3 separate regions of the Homo sapiens genome follow, and all the other regions are linked to region 3. The links are contacts of gene promoters, found by promoter capture Hi-C in human tissues and cell types (Jung and others, 2019). All regions are on one chromosome and are shown on one strand. Each heading gives the region's core, a stretch centred on a gene start or on the middle of the fragment in contact. The rest is flanking DNA. Distances are from core to core; before and after follow the strand shown.

Region 1 (3,571 bases), core at 1,060-3,559, 1.4 Mb before region 3:
TTTTATGTTTGATACAGTTAAAGAATCATTTCAGATTTTTAATCTACTGAGCTTAATGACCTTTTCTTCATATGAAGATTGATGTCAAAGTTCTTTCTTTCTTTGCTGCAGAGCTAAGGAAATAGGACTTACTTTTTTCTCTTCGATTACCTAGCCAGCCACTATACCCTTCAGGGTTCTCTTATTCTTAATATGCCTGAAAAAGTGTGGAGAGGAAATAGCTTTCTCAACTTCCCACTTCCTTGCTGCTTGGGAAGACAAGAATATATGTAGACAGGCCCTTCTGCTTCCAAGGAAAATAGGAAGGAGATAACAAATGATAACCAATATGAAGATGTGTCAGAAGTTCTGGAATTTTAAAATGACTTTCTGCCCTGGTCTTGTACCCCCGGTTTTTATTCCTGATTATGGAGCTCACACCCTCCCCACTTTCTCACTCCTCCTTTAGCAAACCCTTATGACTCTTCACACCAATTCAAGGTCTAAAAAGAAAATACAGCCAGCCAGAGATGGCCTCTTTCAGCATAAATTTTATTTTTACTTGTTAATGGAAATCTCCCTAAAACAAAATTGTAAGAGTTAAAGAAACAGGAAAGAGACACGAAATGTGGTTTGACAGTAAAGACAGGTTTACTTTTGATAAAACCTGAGAGGGGCTTCTGGCTGACTTTGGTTAGGAGCACTTTCTCTTACAGACTAAGAGAACATATTGGTTTTAGGGTAAGGGGGCTTATTAGAAGCTTGGAATGTTTCTGTGTGAGGGACAAGTTTTATGGTGGGGTTGGAATGTCTCTGGGAGGAGGGGAGTTTATCTTGGGGCAGACATCTTTCTGGCTTGGAGTGGGGTTATCTCGGAGCTGGCATCTTCCTGGCTGGCGGGGGGTTATCTCGGGGCTGGCAAGTCTCTGATTGGGGAGGAGTTTGGAATGTTTCTGGTTGGAGATGTTATTTGTGGTTATTGTGGTTTATGCTGACCTTAGCCATTAGGCTGATACCCTTTGGATTTAGGCGTTTTTTTTTTATTAAGGTGAACTTTAGAATGAGGGGCTTGTCCAAGATGGTGATGCTCCTGCTCTGTCAAAAATTTGTTTACTGTCATCTGGATTTTTGTTGATGGATCATTTAGTATTATTACAATGAACATTAACTGTTATATACTGCAACAAACAATGATGTCATGGACTTTAAAGACTGAAGATGTGTTTAGCCATTAAATGATCTAAGATGTCTAGGATTTTATTTCTTATATTTATATTTCTTTCTTTTCACTACCAAGTGATCAGAAAATCTGCCTAAATACCTTTTCCAATATTAGTTTTTACTGCTTTGAATTTTTTGCTTTTAATTTGTGAGGGCTGGGAAACCAGAAAATACGTTTGTTAAAATTGTGTTTTAAATGAGTACAGCAGATTAAGTTGTGTGATACTCAATGCTGATGAGGTTGTATTAAAGTTAGAACTTCCTGATTATTGTTTGAAAGCATTAATGTAATCCTTTGAGAAAGCAATTTGGCAACATATAACAAGATCCTTAAAATATTTATATTCTTTAATATAATATTCTTTTTTCTAGAATTAACATAAGAACTTAATTTATTGCCAAAGTATTTATCCACAATGAAATTTTAACGTAATTTATAATAAGGGAAAAGTGTAAATGATCTAAATATTTAATAGAAGAGTTTTCAGGTAAATTATAGAACCTTTAATGAAACTGTATATAGTCATTAAAACTGATTATACAAAGATTATGAAATAACTTTATCTTGTGATACATGAATATGATAGAATATTAAATGAAGAAGGTAATTCTCACATCCACTTGAGACCTTAGAAATGATGTAAAAATAATGCGTATTTTATATAAGTTATCTCATTTAAACCTCACAAAAAACCTCTAAAGTGAGTACTATTATTATCTACATTTAATAGATGAGAAAACTGTCACCAAGAGTTTAAGTAACTGGCAAATAATTGTCAGAGCTGAGATTCCAACCCCAGCAATATGGGTCCAAGAACCTGTGCTTATAACCACTGGGCTTTAAGCAGAGACATCTCAGTTTATGCTTGGTGTCCTAGCATGATTATTTATAGTGTCCCATTTCATTCTTAGAAGTCACAATTTGAATGATAAATCATATGGTTACACTAGCTCTACATGAATACATGGCCATGCTAAAAAAATAAGTAAATTATCAATAGATCAGAAACTATGGGGATTTTTTGAGACTAAATCCATGTAGAATCAGAGGAAAGAAGAAACTGGTAACCCAAACCAGCTGAGGGAAAGAAGAGCATGAGCACAAAGAATCAGTGACCAAGTGGGCCTCATGCCTGGAGGCTATCAAAGTCAGGATGGCATCCAGGAGCAATTGGTGTGGGAAGTAGTGGGTTACTATAGCAAGAATAGTGAGTTCAGTTGTAGTAGATTGCAAAAATGCTCACAATACATCTCCAAACAAGAGAGTAGGGAGATGTGTTCCCACCCCTTTGAATCTGGGTTGGCCCTGTGGCTCTCTCTGACTGAAAGAATGTGATAGAAGTGACACTGTGTGAATTCTGGACACTGCCACCAAGTGAACAAGCTTGGGCTAGCCTGGTGGAAGATGAAACCACATGGAGAAGGACCAAGTGTCCCAGCTGACAGGTGGCCACCTGCCAGACATCCAAGTGAGGCTACTTAGGATTCCTCCAACCCCTGCCTGCCCAGCGGATCAGCCAACTGCCAACTGACTGCATATCTTGCAGCTGACTGCAAATGCACGAACAAGACCATAGAAAAACTGCCAGGTTGAGCCTAGCCCAAATTGCTGACCTGCAGAATTGTGAGTTGAAGAACATTGTTATTTTAAGCCTCTGAGTTTTAGGGTAGTTTAGGATGTAGCAAAAGTGAACTAATATACCAAGAAGCCCTTGCAAATATCTCCAACTTCCACCCCTCAAAAGTCCGGGCAGTATTTATTTGGAGGTGTCTGTGACAGGCAAGAGCAGTGCTTGGGACAGAAGAGTAGTGACTATATGTCTAAAGTCATTTGGGAAAAATTAAGATCAACTGAGCCTGGAAAAACGAGCCATGATATATCACAGCCAATAAGATATGTAGTTCCTTCTAGAAGATAAATCACGTATATCATGAGATGAGATGAGAACATGGCAAATTTTGCCAAATATCTAAGTGAACTCTGTCTGTATCCAGGAATTATTCTTACTGTTATTTAATGTTGCTGTTAAAAAAGAAGAGCCTAACCATTAGGCCTGCCCCTCAGTATAACTCACATACTAGAATTCCAACTGACTGTTGCTACAGCCCATAAATTTTGCCCCCAGATAAGTAATAAAAAGAGTTAGAACGCTTTCCCCCTTGGAAGCAGACACTTGGTTATACCCATAGGTTTGGCTGTAAATTGCAGGAAAAGATCCTCTTTCACTGTCAAGATAATAAGATCTGGCTGGATGTGGTGGCTCAAACCTGTAATCCCAGCACTTTGGGAGGCTGAGGTAGGCAGATCACCTGAAGTCAGGAGTTCGAGACCAGCCTGGCCAACATGGCAAAACCCCATCTACTAAAAATA
Region 2 (3,779 bases), core at 905-3,404, 1.5 Mb before region 3:
GGCGCAAAAAGGAAAAGTTGGAAAGCTGTAATATACTGCAGAGAACCAGCAATGTGTCTTACGGAGAGGATTTTTTTCTTTTCCTTTTTTTCTTTTTTTTTTTTTTTGAGACGGAGTTTCGCTCTTGTTGCCCAGGCTGGTGTGCAATGGCGCCATCTCGGCTCACCGCAAACTCCGCCTCCCAGATTCAAGCGATTCTCCTGCCTCAGCCTCCTGAGTAGCTGGGATTACAGGCATGTGCCACCACGCTCGGCTAATTTTGTATTTTTAGTAGAGATGGGGTTTCTCCGTGTTGGTCAGGCTGGTCTCGAACTCCGTACCTCATGTGATCCGTCCGCCACGGCCTCCCAAAGTGCTGGGATTACAGGTGTGAGCCACCGTACCTGGCCAGAATTTCTATTTCCACTAGGTGGCGCTATTGTCTTAGGAATACCATGTCTTACCAGCGAATTAGTAGCAAGTAACCTCACCACGTGGTGGGGAGGTGGTGGTGTGGTGGGGGAGGTGGCATTGGGGGGATGGCGTGGAGGGGTGGGAATCTCTGTTCCTAGAAGATTGCAAGGACATTTTCCTGAGCTATATCCCCAGTGCTACAGCATTTCCTGATCTTGCTTAACAGGATTACTCCCTTAGGCTGTAAAAATTCCTGCACATTCTACACACACAGAGAGAGTAAGAGACCACGGATAGAAAGAGAAAGAAAGTTTGGCGACAGAATAGCAGGAAGAGAGCCTTGAGATTAAAGGACAGATTTGAGTTTGAGATTTGCTCCACTCTGTACTCACCAATCCGTTGAATGAATTCCCGGCCAATGCACCAAAATGATATGGCTCCGATGACTGGAGGAACACCAGAGTCCTTGGTCTCATGATGACCGACATGGACACAAGTCTGGAGTGGTTTTAAGGAGCAGAGAATTTAATAGGCAAGAAAGAGGAAAGGAAGAAGAAAACAGCTCCCCCATACAGAGACAGAGGGAGGGGGATCCAAGCAAAGAGAAACCCTGTGTGTGGCAGAAAAGTGGTTGGTTATACGGGAGGCTGGAGGAGGCGGTGTCTGATTTGTATAGGGCCCAAGGGATTGGTTTGAACAGGTGTGTCATTCACGTAGCTGGCAAAAAACCTGGCCATCCCAACTTAGCCCTTTAGTATGCACATGCGGGCCTGCCATGATGTCCCAAACATGTGGAGTTATCTGGAGGTGCCCATGACACTTGGCATACCTGGTGACAAGAAGAAGAAGGTGGGAATTGCCATATTGGGTGGACCCAGTTTCTAATGACGTGCATTTGCATATCAAAGCTTGCCCGCCTGGCCCTCTTTAAGTACCTTTCTGTTAGAAAAGAAATAGTTTGGAGGTTGCTTTCATTAAAAGAAAAACCCTGACTGAGAACTCCTTTTACCTTCTCTATCTGCCTGAAAATTATTTCTTAATAACTCCTGTATTAGCCCCACCATCCACCCAGAGTCACTCAGGCCAAAACCCTAGAGGTCCACCCTCGATTCCCTTCTCCCGTTTAACTCACATCCAATCCACCATAAAGTCTTGTCGAGATGACCTCTAAAGCATTTCCCAAATGGATGCAGCTTCCTCCCTCTCCACTATGTCCAGCCTGGTGAAAGCTACCATCACATCCTGCCTGGAGTACTACAGCAGCCTCTTGCTTGGCCTTCATATTTGTATTCTCTTCCCCTTTCGGGTGTTCTCCATAGACCATCTGGAGGTTGTCTTTTTAATCTAAGTTGATCACATCACCCTCCTGGTTAAAAGCTTCCAGGGGCTGTCCATCTGATTTGCAAAGAAATCCAGACCCCTCTCCCTAGAAGCTGCATAGGGCCTGGGTCCTGCGGACCTTGCCAGTGCCTGCCCTTGCCTCCCTCACCCCTCCTGGCAGTAGGCTTCAGCCATGGTTGTCTTTGTGTCTGTCCCCTAAGTTTGTTCCTGCCTTAGAGACTTGTATAAGCTTCCTCTTCTGCAATGCATGCCCCTGAAAGACAGTTAATTTCTTTTAATTGCCTGAGTTTAGCCTAAACATCATCTCTTTAGGCCCAAACTAGAGGTCCTCCCATCATTCACCTATCACAACTCCTGATTATATTTTCAATACATTATGTACAAGGTGATCTAAAAGTTTTCATGCATTTCTGTACTTGTATAGGAATGGCCAGTGATGACAGGTTCATCTTGACCAGTGATGAGAGTTTCCAGTTCTTCTTAGTCAGGAACCCAGATAAGGATTTGGGTTAATTTCCTTTCTTATCAGATGTGCCATGGAGCTTTTTCCCAGTCATTTTGGATCAAGCGAAGTCCTATTCCCAGATGCTTAGTAAACATTACTGTCCTGCATGCAATACCATCCTGGCCCTCCTGCCTCTAAACCAGGCATTATCTCCATCTGACTCTGCCATCTTGCTTTTTGTACTGTTTTGGCCTGTAGACCTCTAAGGGGATGGGCACCAAGGCAAAGGTCACTTGGCTTAGGTAATATCCTTGGGACCACTCTCCTTAGTAGCCCTGGAACTAGCCTTGCTAGGGTAAAATCCTAGGAGGGGCAAGTAGTTGTCCTCCAAAGCCACCCACTTTTAGTCTTTTTGCAAAACCTTCTTTTCTAGTCATATTCTCGATTTCTTCTAGACATGTTTTGTGATCAGTAAGTGTTGAGTGAAGGTATTGGTCAAAGGGGAAAATTTAGAGGTCAAGTCTATATCAGAGGGAAAGGGAAAGGCACCAAGAATATGCCAGTTAACACAATTTCTATTTAAGGGGCTAGAATGATACATTTAGGAGAAACAGCACAGGCTTCTAAACATGGTAGGACAAGAGAGTCAAACAAGAAGAAAACCCAGGCTGTTCAGTGGTGGGTTTGTCTTTGTCCAATATTAAGATTGAGAGCTTCTGACCAAGCTGAGGAAAAGCTAGATTGAGCTGCCTGGCATGTTCTCCCCTGGATAGCCTGGCAGCAGACACCCCCTGTGCTATGGCATTGCAAGGAAAAGACAGTGGGTAATTAAAGCCCGTGGTCATCTGGAGCTCAGCCACCTTGTGGTTCCCTTGGTTCCCTTTGGGGAAGGTTGGGGAACATGGGGAAGGGAGGGCTTTGTACCACAGAAAGGAATGGCTGGTAGGAATGGGAGATTTTGAGTGAAGCATAAAAAGTTATTTGGAGCCATGGGTTGGAGAGAGCCTCTAAGCATGGGGACCTCCTGCTCCTGCTTTTAATCAGACCAAGAGGGTAAGTAATAGATCCGGAGTTATATCCACATTGTCTCATGTGGCCTCCTCATTGTCATTGCTGCTTAAACAAAATGGGCATAGGGAGAGGGAAATGTTCATCCTCCTTGTGCCTCGGGAGGGTGCCGGGGTAGAGTGATCTTGGCAGCCTGTGGCTTCGTCACTGCCTCCCATGGGAGGACTGGGCCTGCCCAGAGCACAGAATAGTAATGGGTTGATACTATGCCTTTTTTATTTTTCGTCTCCAAACACAGGTGAATCACTTTGATTTAAGTTTCTTATAAAATGCTGTATCAGCTACTACTAGTTAAATGAGTTACTATTTGTCAAGAGCTTAGAACAGCACCTGGCACTGTCACATATTAATTTAGTAGCAATTGTCACCATGATTGCAGCTGTGGTGTTTCAGGTACTAACTTCTGGCAGCCTGTATAGATAATCAGCTCTCAGTGTTACTCCGGGGAATCAGGGCAATGCTTATCAGCTCAATTTGCCTGATGGGCTTAAAAGACATGAAAGGGAAAAGGTTGAGGGAACCGCTCCACATG
Region 3 (3,512 bases), core at 678-3,177:
TTTGCAATTTCTTCCCTCCCACTTCCTCTAAACCATTGAACAAGTATAGACATTACTATACTGCTCACAAAGGTGGCTTCACAATTCAATTTCCAGAAGTATTTCCTATGAATTTTAGCAAAAAGATATTTACAAAGTGGTATTTTACTACCTCTACATTTAACATACATTGGGCACTTCTAAACATCTAGATAGACTAGATGTTTCAAGTAAGGAGTTAATTTGTCTACTATGTATACAGCAGTCTTGAATAAACTGCAAACATGTAAAAACAGTTATAATTTGAAAGAGTCTTCCAAATGTGAACATTCTGGCCTAGAACCCTTCCCATTTCCATCAACCCAGAATACATCAAATTTTCAGAAGACAATCTTTCCTAGGACTTGTAAAACAAAATGTACAAAATATATTAGTTTACTAACTCTACTTTTGTCATACACTGGCAACCTCTTTAACATCCAGAAAGACTAGATGTTGTCAATTAGGATTCGTCTGTCCTTTATGTACACTATATACACAGATAAGTAAAACAAAACGCACAGAGATAATGATTCATCTTGCCTCGCTGTAAACAGGATGTCATAGAGCTCTCTGCACCTCCCCCTCCTCTCTCTTCCCCTGAACCACACTGCACAATGAGCATTACTCAACAGGTGATTTGGCCATTCCCCCCAAAAAACATTTCCTATGATTTGTAACAAAAAGGTATTTACAAAATGTGATTTTGCTACCTCTAATTTTAACATATCAGGCACTTCAGAACATCTAAAAAGAATAGACATTTCAAAAAAGCTTAGCATTGTCAACTATATACACAGTAGTGAAGAATAAAATGCACACAAAACAATGGATAGAATATGAAAATGTCTTCTAAATATGACCAGTCTAGCACAGAACCTTCTTCTCTTCCTTCTCAGGTCTTCCACCTCCATGTCATCTAACCCACTTAACAAACGTGGACGTATCGCTTCCAGAGGCCGTCTTAACAACTCCATTTCTAAAAGTCATCTCCAGAAGACATGTGTTTTCTATGATTTCTTTTAAACAAATGAGAATTTACAAGATGTGTGACTTTCTATTTTATCATATGTCGGCAACCTCTTTCCATCTAGAAGGGCTAGATGTGACAAATGTTTTCTATTAAAAGGTTGGGGTGAAGTTGAGAGCAGCTTTTTCATATTATATACACAGGCCTTACATAAACGGCCAGTAAATCTTCCCAGAGGGTGGTGGGCATTTCCAACGGGCCAAACGTGGCCTGTCATTCTACCATTTCTCTCTTCTGACAGCAAAGTCTGGTAGAACAAAGACCAACCGCCCGATAGCCGCTAACCGTTCCACCCGTCGTCTTTCGGGACTTCACTCACCTTCCAGGCCCCTGAAGGCCTTTGTCCGTTGTCGTCAGGACTAGGTCGGTCTCGCCCAATGGCGACAGAGTGGTCACCCGGGAACCGGATCTGCGCGGCTCCGTGGCCTAAAGAGGTGGCCGAGCCTGCTTGCGTCCCTAGGCCGCCTTCCCGGGCCCTCCACGCCTTAATGGCCTCCGCCGCGCGGCGTTCAAGCGGCCGCCATACTTTCCGGCCCACCACGCCCGGCGCCGCCCAAAGGCGCTGCGTCCCAGCGACTCTGCGGGGGTTTCGTCGAGGCCCGGCAGGCTTGGGTCGGGAGACGCGGCGGCCGGCGGGGTCCCGTCGGGGAGACGCAGCCGCCGCCATCAGTCATCCAGGTGGGGTGGGAAAGAGAGGTTCGCTGCGGCTTCAAGGCCTGGGCACAGCCAGTGGGCAGCCACAGCAGAGGCCTCCGGTATCTGCAGGGCAGAGGCCTCGGCCTGTCCCGGGGCCCCCCAGTTCACCCGCCGGCCCGGGTCCGGAGGGCCTGGAGGGCCCTGGAGGAGCTGGCTGCGTTCTGCGTCTCTCCGCGCTCTCTGCCAGACCGGAACTGAAGTTAGATTTTTGTATCAGGAAATATAAAAATATCTTCTGCTCTGCTCAGTTGAATGTTCATTTTTTTCTCATAGCATCATGTTTTTTTCCTTTTCTTTATAATTAAGACAGTTCATCATGTACATAAAAATCACATACATGAAGGCACACACATACACAAATGTACTTGTCTTAGATATTCTCTTAGGTTCAGTTGGGTTTATTAATATATAAATATTAACAGGTAAAAATAAAGTAGTAATTGTTACAAGGATTGTTATAAGGCCTGTCACTCTGGAAGGCCACATTTGTGTCTCCAAAGTCCAGCACAACATTTTAAAGAAGGATGAATTTGAAAGTCATTGGATGAGACAAGTATGCTATCTTCATGACCCCTGAAAACATTTGAGTTTCACAGGTGATAAGATTTGTCAGCATTTCTGAGTATTTATTTGTGTCATATTATTGAAATTAAAATTTGACCATAGCATGTGAATTAAATAGGTTACCACTTTTTAATGTAATAGAGAACAATAAAATATTTATATTATGTCTTAGGCACTTAGTTTTAAAACCTCACCCACTTTTAGCATACAATTATGCTTTTAAAAGGTTTAAGAAATATAAAAAGAGCTGAAATGACTTAAAATATAGATTATAGAAAATACTAATAGATGAAATAAATACATTTATGATGAAAAGAAGAACAGATAATATTGATGAAAGAATATTTGGAAATGGAAAGTAAAACACTAAATTAGAATGTTGTAATCAATATAGATAAGTATTTGAAATGAAAAACGTATTTCAGCTGAGTATTTTTGCACTGAAAGATATTGGGCCTACGGTACAATATGTTAAATACATATAGTAATATATTATTGATAATTATTAAGACTATGTACTAACACCTATCAAGATAAATAACACCAGCCATATATTTTTGGGGAGTTTATTTATTGGATCCCTTTTTACCCACAATATATAGTACAAATTCCATGAGGGTAAGAGTGTCTGCTTTGTCACTATGACAAAGTACTTGGTACTTAGCACATCATTTGTCATATTAAAGGTGCTTAATGAAATGAATATTTGTTACAAGAGTGGCCAGACTGCAAGTTCAGTTGACAGATCTGTGGTTCATTTGAGCCTATTAATCCTATTAAAATATTGCACAAACAATGCTTTATAGATAGAAGTGATTACCTTGCTGAAACAGAGGTATCAGATGGCACAGACTGTGCATGGACTGAAAGTATTTATTCATCAGCTGATTATGAAATCTAAACTTGTCATGTGAAAAAGTGATATAAGACTTTTAAGGTCAGGCGCCATGGCTCACTCCTATAATCCCAGCATTTGGGAGGCCAAGGTGGGTGGATTATTTGAGGTCAGGAGTTCGAAACCAGCCTGATCAATACGGTGAAACCCCGCCTCTACTAAAAGTACAAAAATTAGCCTGATGGGGTGGTGGGTGCCTGTACTCCCAGCTACTTGGGAGGCTGAGGCGGGAGAATCGCTTGAACCCAGGAGGTGAAGGTGAAGGTTGCAGTGAGCCGAGATTGTGTCACTGCACTCCAGCCTGGGGGA

The links. The method cuts DNA at HindIII sites, captures the fragments that hold promoters and counts their contacts. A contact is called where the count stands out against the background at its distance.
Region 1: a fragment that was not itself captured here is called in contact with the fragment with the promoter of OVCH1-AS1 in region 3 in 1 of the 25 tissues and cell types used here (spleen).
Region 2: a contact is called between a fragment that was not itself captured here and the fragment with the promoter of OVCH1-AS1 in region 3, in 1 of the 25 tissues and cell types used here (H1 embryonic stem cells).

The regions. Positions count from the first base shown.
Region 1 is chr12:30,781,750-30,785,320 of GRCh38, reverse strand. No RefSeq gene overlaps it. Among named protein-coding and RNA genes, the nearest start is that of LINC00941, 12 kb to the left of the region's middle. The HindIII fragment of the contact is 4,641 bases long and covers 1-3,571 here.
Region 2 is chr12:30,841,356-30,845,134 of GRCh38, reverse strand. No RefSeq gene overlaps it. Among named protein-coding and RNA genes, the nearest start is that of LINC00941, 48 kb to the right of the region's middle. The HindIII fragment of the contact is 4,014 bases long and covers 148-3,779 here.
Region 3 is chr12:29,387,709-29,391,220 of GRCh38, reverse strand. It overlaps OVCH1-AS1 (OVCH1 antisense RNA 1), which reads right to left and starts at 1,927. Exons shown (of 2, transcript NR_073172.1): 1 at 1,368-1,927. The HindIII fragment of the contact is 7,391 bases long and covers 1-3,512 here.